2 separate regions of the Homo sapiens genome follow, and region 2 is linked to region 1. Evidence: promoter capture Hi-C in 16 types of primary human blood cells and fetal thymus (Javierre and others, 2016). All regions are on one chromosome and are shown on one strand. Each heading gives the region's core, a stretch centred on a gene start or on the middle of the fragment in contact. The rest is flanking DNA. Distances are from core to core; before and after follow the strand shown.

The links. The method cuts DNA at HindIII sites, captures the fragments that hold promoters and counts their contacts. A CHiCAGO score of 5 or more calls a contact.
Region 2: a contact is called between a fragment that was not itself captured here and the fragment with the promoter of SLC35F6 in region 1, in 4 of 17 cell types (M0 macrophages, M2 macrophages, M1 macrophages and 1 more). The highest score is 7.6, in M0 macrophages.

Annotation. Positions count from the first base shown.
Region 1 is chr2:26,762,219-26,766,093 of GRCh38, forward strand. It overlaps SLC35F6 (solute carrier family 35 member F6), which reads left to right and starts at 2,066. Exons shown (of 6, transcript NM_017877.4): 1 at 2,066-2,208. The coding sequence starts at 2,132. RefSeq lists an enhancer at 1,723-1,922 and a silencer at 1,933-2,242. The HindIII fragment of the contact is 6,262 bases long and covers 1-2,680 here.
Region 2 is chr2:26,609,815-26,613,689 of GRCh38, forward strand. All of the region lies in intron 3 of CIB4 (calcium and integrin binding family member 4), which reads right to left. Among named protein-coding and RNA genes, the nearest start is that of CIB4, 30 kb to the right of the region's middle. The HindIII fragment of the contact is 894 bases long and covers 1,201-2,094 here.

The DNA.
Region 1 (3,875 bases), core at 816-3,315:
TTATGGGTACTTGTCATGACACTCAGCTAATTTTTGCATTTTTAGTAGAGACTGAGTTTTGCCATGTTGCCCAGGCTTGTCTGGAAATCCTGAGCTCAAGCAATCAGCCCGCTTCAGCCTCCCAAAGTGCTAGGATTATAGGTGTGAACCACCACACCCAGCCAAGAGTAGGATTTTAAACACCAGAACCCCTTGAGGACTAAGCTCTGATTTTTTTTACCTTGCCCAAATTCCTACCTAAGAGGTCTGGAGAGTCATGCCCTACAAACCATAAATTCTCATCAGATGGGTTTTATTTAACCCTATATATCATGACTTACTTTCCAATCTGACTCTGGCATAATATTATGTGACTAAGAAGAAAGTCAAAAGATTTTACCCCAAAACATTTTTCTTTGCCATATCTTGAAATGGCCCTGCAAATCTGTCTTTTGTGGGGGAAAATTTGCATCTGTAAAGAATCTCTATTACCGGCCGGGCGTGGCGGATCACGCCTGTAATCCCAGCACTTTGGGAGGCCGAGGCAGGTGGATCAGGAGTTCAAGACCAGCCTGGCCAACATGGTGAGACCCCCCCCATCTCTACTAGAAATACAAAATTTAGCCAGGCGTGGTGGCAGGCACCTGTAGTCCCAGCTACTTGGGAGGCTGAGGCAGAGAACTGATTGAATCCGGGAGGTGGAGGTTGCAGTGAGCCGAGATCGCACCACTGCACTCCAGCCTGGGCGACAGAGCAAGACTCCGTCTCAAAAAAAAACAAAAATCTCTATTAACATAGATAGATATTTTTCCCGTTTCCTGCCCCACCCTCTCCCCTCCTCCCGGCTTTGAGTTGTCCTACCTTTCTGGACCAAACCAATGTATTTCTTAAATGTATTTGATTGATGTCTCGTGTCTTTCTAAAATGCTGCGCCCCGACCACTTTGGGCACATGTTCTCAGGACCTCCTGAGGGCTGTGTCACGGGCCATGGTCACAAATATTTGGCTCAGAATAAATCCCTTCAAATATTTTAGAGTGTGACTCTTCGTCAACACCCTCTTCAAACAAACCTAGGGATGGTCTTTCTGCCTGGATGCCTCAGCTGCGACCAGAAAGTCCACAAAGGAGCAGTGAAGCAGGGCTTGGTGCAGAGGCCATGCGGAAGGCACGGATTTTTGGAGACTGGAGAACCCAAGCGCAAATCCCTACCCCACTGCTCACCAGCAGGTTCTTAAGCAAATCACTCTGCTTCGCTGAATTTACTGTCCTCAGCTATAAAATGGTGTCCTCGGCAACTGGAGCTAGATGCCTTCGCCACTTTGCTGAAAGATATGAACTGTGCCCAAGGTGGGCGGTATCAGATAGGAGCCCCGAAGTGGAAACGTCCAGCGTGGGAATCTCCTCTCTACAGGGTCCCCAAGGAACTCCCGGCAGGCCCACTTCAGGGCTCCTTTCTGACACCGCCCAGCTCAACCTCTCAAAACGATTCACAAAATGCTGTAATAGCCACGATGCACCCTCACTGCACTGTCCCATCCGCCCCTTTTACAAATAGGAAGACCCAAAGATAAAAATAAGAAACCAAGGCCAGGCGCGGTGGTTCACGCCTGTAATCCCAATACTTTGGGATGCGGAGGAGGGCGGATCACCTGAGGTCGGGAGTTCGAGACCAGCCTGGCCAACATGGTGAAGCCCTGTCTCTACTAAAAATACAAAAAATTAGCCGGGCGTGGTGAAGGGCGCCTGTAATCCGAGCTACTCGGGAGGCTGAAGCAGGAGAATCGCTTGAACCCAGGAGGCGGATATTGCAGTGAGCCGAGATCATGCCATTGCACTCCAGCCTGGGCGACAGAGTGAGACTCCTTCTCAAAAAAATAGAAAAAAGAAACCCAAAAAGGCGGGGGAGAGTGAGGAAGAAAAGAAAAAAAAAACTGGAAGGCCTGGGCCGTGATTTGCCAGGGCCACGGCGTGGCCACCAAAGCGCTCCAGGACGACTCGGCAGAGCGCGGGCACCGTGGCTCAGGCGCGCTCCCCGGGGGCGGGGCGAGCAGGAGGGGTCACGTGACGCCCGGCCCGGAAGCGCTCGCGCAGGAGACCCCGGGTGACGGGGCCCGGCGCCGCTAACTGGAGCGAACCCCAGCGTCCGCCGACATGGCCTGGACCAAGTACCAGCTGTTCCTGGCCGGGCTCATGCTTGTTACCGGCTCCATCAACACGCTCTCGGCAAAGTGAGTCTGGGCCCTGCCGGGCGTGCGGGCCCTGGCGACCCCGGCGCTCGTTCTACGCCTTCCCCCTTCTTGGCCCTGCCCTCCTGGCTTCCCCTGCTTTCCCACTTGCTCCGGTCAGTTCGCGCGCGTTATGACCACCCAAGGGATGCGAGGCCCGGGGAAATGCGGAGCGGGGCTGCGCCCCGGACGGGGGGATCCGAGCCCCGGCTTTGATTTGCTGTACAGCCTCCGCTCCTGTTTCCACGTCTTTTAACAGGAGGGTTGGCCGATTCCTTTCCACGGCCCTTCCAGTGCTGGCGTCCAAGCCTGAGCACCTCCCTCCACGAGCTGGGAGAGACCCCTGGACTTGTGCACATGAGCCGCAGTAGTGGCTGTGCAGGCCGAGTGACCCAGTGAGCGTGGAGGCCTCAAGCGGCAGACAGGGAGGTGCCCCACGGCCCCTCAAGGATGAGGGGTTAGAGCTGTGCTTTGAAGCTTAGGTGGGATTTCGGAATGTGTCTGAGACTGTAAGTCAAGGAAAGTCTACGGAAAGGCCAGATCAAAGTCGATTGTAACCAGCATCAAATGCCCAGGTTAGATTTTCTCTCATAATCAGAAAAGTGCTTTTGAGCTGGGGAATGACATGTTGAAAGTGATATGATTGACTCAATGACATGAGGAGTGGTTTGGTGCAGGAAAAACCACTCCAAGGCTGCTGCATAGCAGATGAGGGGAACTAGGAGGTGGCAGTGAGAAGAGAAAGGAAGGGACAACTGGTGGCAGAGACCAGGTGTGAATGGCCACAGGCCTGACCCACATGAGCAAGAAACAAGGATCACTCCAGGGTTTCTGCCTGGGAGAAGAAAAGTGCCATTAACTCAGACAGAGAGGGCAAGTGGCCAGTTCAGCTCTGATGTATGGGGGTGAGAGGGGGGACAGTTCCCAGGAGGTTAGGGACTAAGGACCCAGGCAGTCATGAGACTGAGGGACAGGGCCTAGCCTCCCCTCTGTTGTGGGCAGGATGGCATTTCTTTGTCTCTCTCTGTCTCCATCTCAGGGCAGGGCCTTCCTGCCCCTCCTTTTCTTGTTGCCCAGGCTGGAGTGCAATGGCACGATCCCATGTATAAGGTACCTACGGTGTGTAAGGGAAGGGGACAGAAGTGACCAAGAGGCGATCTCTGCCTTTGAGATGCTTGGAATCTGAGGTGGAGGAGACAGACGTGTACGCACACGACAGTCACAGTGTTCTCCCTTCCCCAAACGGTGGGCACAGTCAGTGGAGTCCTGGGTGGGCCCCACCTGTTCCTCTGGTTCACCTCTGGCCAACTGTGCCTTGTGGAGAACTACTAGCTTCCCAGGCCCTGCATCCTCCTGAGGATCACTCCTCATGCTGAATCCTTAGCTGTTCAGAGGCCCCAGCCTGAGGGCTCCCATCTCAGGATCTGAACACAGCAAAGCAAGTCTTCTGTTCTGTCATGCCAGCCAGGGCCTCTGTCAAGTGCTTAGAGAGCGGTTGTAAGTCCACCAGGGCTGCTGCCCACAAGGAGAATCCAGATTGCCAGTTACTGCTGGGGTAAACTGTGCTGATTCACCTCCTTCCTTAGAAAACTCCAAACCAGTCAGGTAGGAAGCTTAGAGATCCTCAATCCCAGAAGGCGTCGCCTTTAAAGGCTGCCTGAGAGTCAGGA
Region 2 (3,875 bases), core at 398-2,897, 150 kb before region 1:
ATACGTTTTCCCACGGAAAACACAAACAAAGTTCCGAACAACCAATATGAAAACCCTTTAAAACACAATCTGTACCTGTACTTTACAGGCAGTTAGTTCAAAGCAAGAGACTGTAACTAACAGGATGAAGTCACCCACTCAAGGGCAGACCAGGCAGCGGAAGCTTAGAAAACTGCCTAGAACATTCGCTCCTCTGCTTCTCGTGGGAGCAGGCTGGGTTCCGCTTGGAGTGGCAGGGCCCCGCTGTGCCTCCACGACCCTCCTGGTTCCGGCCTACTGTTTACAAGCAGCCTTCCTGTTTGTAAGCCGCCAGAGGTTCTCAGATGGTGTCAGGGCTGCTTTGCAGCTGTTTGGGGACACCCAGCACAGGGCACGCTGGGAACCATGTTCCCTGTGAACTCTGCAGGCTGTAGATCTTTGCATCAAGATAACAGTTCCTCTTTTATCAAACACATCTAAGCAACAATTGATCTATTTTGTCCCTCACTTTGAATCCACTGATATAAACAGAAATGGACTCGCACTGCAGCCTCCTCTCACCAATAGCCGCCTCTCCCCCTGCCCACCCACTGCCCCACGCTCAGTGACTCTTTAAACAACGGAGTCTAAACCTAAGCAACTCAAAGGCCTTTTAATGTTTCAGTCCTTGACATTTTGGACTATTGGATTTTTGAAACCCCCAGCTTTCTGTTCTTCTCTCTCCTGTATCCTGGGGACTTTGCCCCAATAGTATCAGGCTGCCCTTGCCTGCTAAGGGCTCTGCCAGCCAGCCATGATTTACCTTGGCATTTATTAAGTACCCAGACCTCTGGGCACCACACCTTATCTATACCTTCCCTCGGGTCCAAGAAGGGCAGAAAGGAAGGCAGGAAACTGGTGCTTGTTAAATATTTACTGTATATCAGGTGCTGTGTCAGCCAAATTCACATCTATTTGTCCATTAATCCCTTACAAGAAACCAAGCAGTCAATAGCAGTAAGTCCATTGTATAGATTAAGAAAACTGAGGGGTGAGGAGGTTAAATTACTTAACCAAATAAGAGGAAAGGCAGGAATTTGATCCCAGGTCTGTGTGACCCTCAAACCTGAGCTCCTTCCCTGGAATGTTTTCCAGGAAAACGCTGCATTGCAATGGAAAAAATACACATGGGTGTCATACTCCCGGGCTAGCAAACAAGCCCAGGCTGAGAGTCCAGGAACAAGCTTGCTCCTGCAAGAGCAAGGGGAGAAGTGGAAAATGCCCCGTGAATCCCTGCATTTGCTGGGGTGGCCAGATGAACTGATGACCTGTCACAGGAGTGATGAGAACTTCTGCATCTCTCCCTCCAGGATGGCACCCTCTGGGCAGCAGTGCAGGTGGAGGAGACTTGGGGCTAGGATCCACTGCACACTCAGCAGGAGATGCAACCTAGCCTTCGGGCTGCAGGGCCAGCACTGCTGTGGCGCCTGTCAGCACAGTCCATCTGGGAAGTTCTCACATAATACTGTCCGTGGGAGGATGGAGAGAATGGATTGTATGATAACACAGGGTAGAGCTGCCTATTGAAAAACCACATGCGAAGAGACCTTTATGGAGTCATGTCAACTTAGAGGGAGGTCTCTAGTGATGTGTCACAGGGCTCCATCTTTTATCACTGATTTGGGTTAAGGATATTCCAAAGCCCAGGTTTCTTATTTTGTGCAGTTTCCCCTATGAGGCATAAAGGTTTTTCCATGTTGCTACATACTCAGTATAATTATCATTTTAATGATTGCGTAGTTCAAATTCTTGGAGTGGACAGTTCTATCCATCTAAAACCTCCAAGGAGAACCTGGATGTCTAAACTAAAAAAAATTCAAAAAATGAGAAAAATAATAGATGAGGGTGTTTATTACAAAATTATTTATAGTAACAAATAAATAAATAAACCCCTGGAAAGAATGTTAATGTCCAGCCATGAGGAGATGGTTTAGTAAATCAGAACTCAATGCAATTATGCGCCATCAAAATGATAATTACACAGACTATGTAGCAACAAGAAAAAGCATTTATGCCTAATGGAAAAGAGCACAGAATAAAATTGTATCTATGTATGTCTACGATATTATAAAATAAAGCTTGCCTAGGGGAAAAGACGGCAAAAGAAAATAGAAAATGAAAATTTATGTTAGGGTCGTTGGATGCTAAGGAATTGATTTCTTAAAATTTTATTTTATTGGTGTCATACTACGTTAACAATAAATAAAAAGCAAATTAAAAAAGAAAGTGCACTCCAGAGACAATTTGCTAAGCAAGCAAAACAACTTTCCTTCCCAGGGGGTTGGAGGCAGGAGCTTTTGCTTCTCTCTTCTGCTTCACTCTCTGCAGGGCAAGGGCTGAACCCAGGCAGAGCTGAACTCCTGGCTCCCAGACCCAGTGAGGGGCTGATGTGCACTCTTCTCCTGTAAGGCCTGGCAGGAGACAGGAATCCTATTCAGCTCAGAGCTCAATAAGAACGGAAGTTCAGTGGAAGATGGCCCCAGCTCATCGCACCATCTTTGAGTCTTAGAGCATCTATGTCTGTACCTTTCCATATTCTTTCCAAAATATGGAGCCAAAGATGGGTAACTAGGATGCAGTGGACATTTTTGTGGATTATTCTACAGGGTTCTAAGAGCCTTGTTGGCCCCAGTGCTGCTTCTACTTTCTGGGCGTGAAAGCCTGAAAAAGCACAGTGGTTCCCTGGCCTCCCTCCCCTCCCAGGGTCCCTGGTGGCTCGGAGGCCTCTCTAAGGAGGAAGGGACTCAAGAAGTGGGACCACTGCCAACTGCCTGGCCCTGCTGGGAGCCTTCCCTTTTCTCGGTGATTCTTCCTCTTCCAGGAGGCCATTTGCCCAGAGACAGAGAGCAGGAGCAGCTGGCCAAGCGAGGCACTGCATATGCACAGAAGGAAGCTGTCCTCAATCCACAAGAGCCCTGCCAGCTGCTCCCCGTGACGACTTTCCTGAAGGTGGGGTGGCTTAAGCCCTGGGGCAGTTTACAGAGTATGGGACAAGGGGGAGGTTCTGCATCAACAGGGGCCAGGGCAGTAGGTGCTCCAATCATCTCCAGAGATAACTTATCTCCCATCTCTGGGTTTTCTGCCACCTGAGAAGTGACGTCTTGGTCACTGGCCTTTGCCTCCATTCCCCTAGATGCTGGGTGGGTCTGCTGGGAGCACTTCCCTCTGGCATTTGGCCTTGGGCAGAAAGAGAGAGAAGGAGGATCCTTTCCCCAAGGCCTAGGGGACTTTCAGCAGATGCAAGGGCATTCATCATCTCTCCTCCTCATCTCAGCTTCAGCTTTCTAGGAGAGTGGGTTTTTCCCACCGGAGCCTGATCCCCCAGCTTATGCCTGGAGGCCTCCAGCACCTGGAGCTTGCTTTCTCTCGACTGAGCCTCCTCTCTCTGTTAGGAAATTTCCTCCCTAGGACCAACAGAAGGGGCCCCAAGGTCACTTTTCCCATCCACCTTAGCAGTACCCTTGGGGCCAAATCTAATTCCTCCTCCACCCACCAGCAAGGATGTAAAGAACGTATGTCTTCCCAAGTCTTTCTGCAGGTGGAGCACCCCAGTTTCTTAGCCACCTTCCCTCTAAGCCCCTGGTGTGAGGCTGGAGCTTACACATAAAGACTCCCCAGGTGGTCCTGCCACTCAGAGGGCACAGCCATGCCCTCCCTCCACAGGCAGCTTCTGGGAATGCTGCCTGCAATCCCCCTCCCTTTCCTGGAGTATTTTAGCATTTCACCTCCATTCTGTCATCCAGTCTTCGTAAAAACCCTCTGAAGTAGGCAGGGCTGCTATCATTGGATTCATTTTTCAGATGGGGAAAGCTGAGGTTATACACAAACTGCAGTTCAACTCCAGGGCTTTTGGTGAC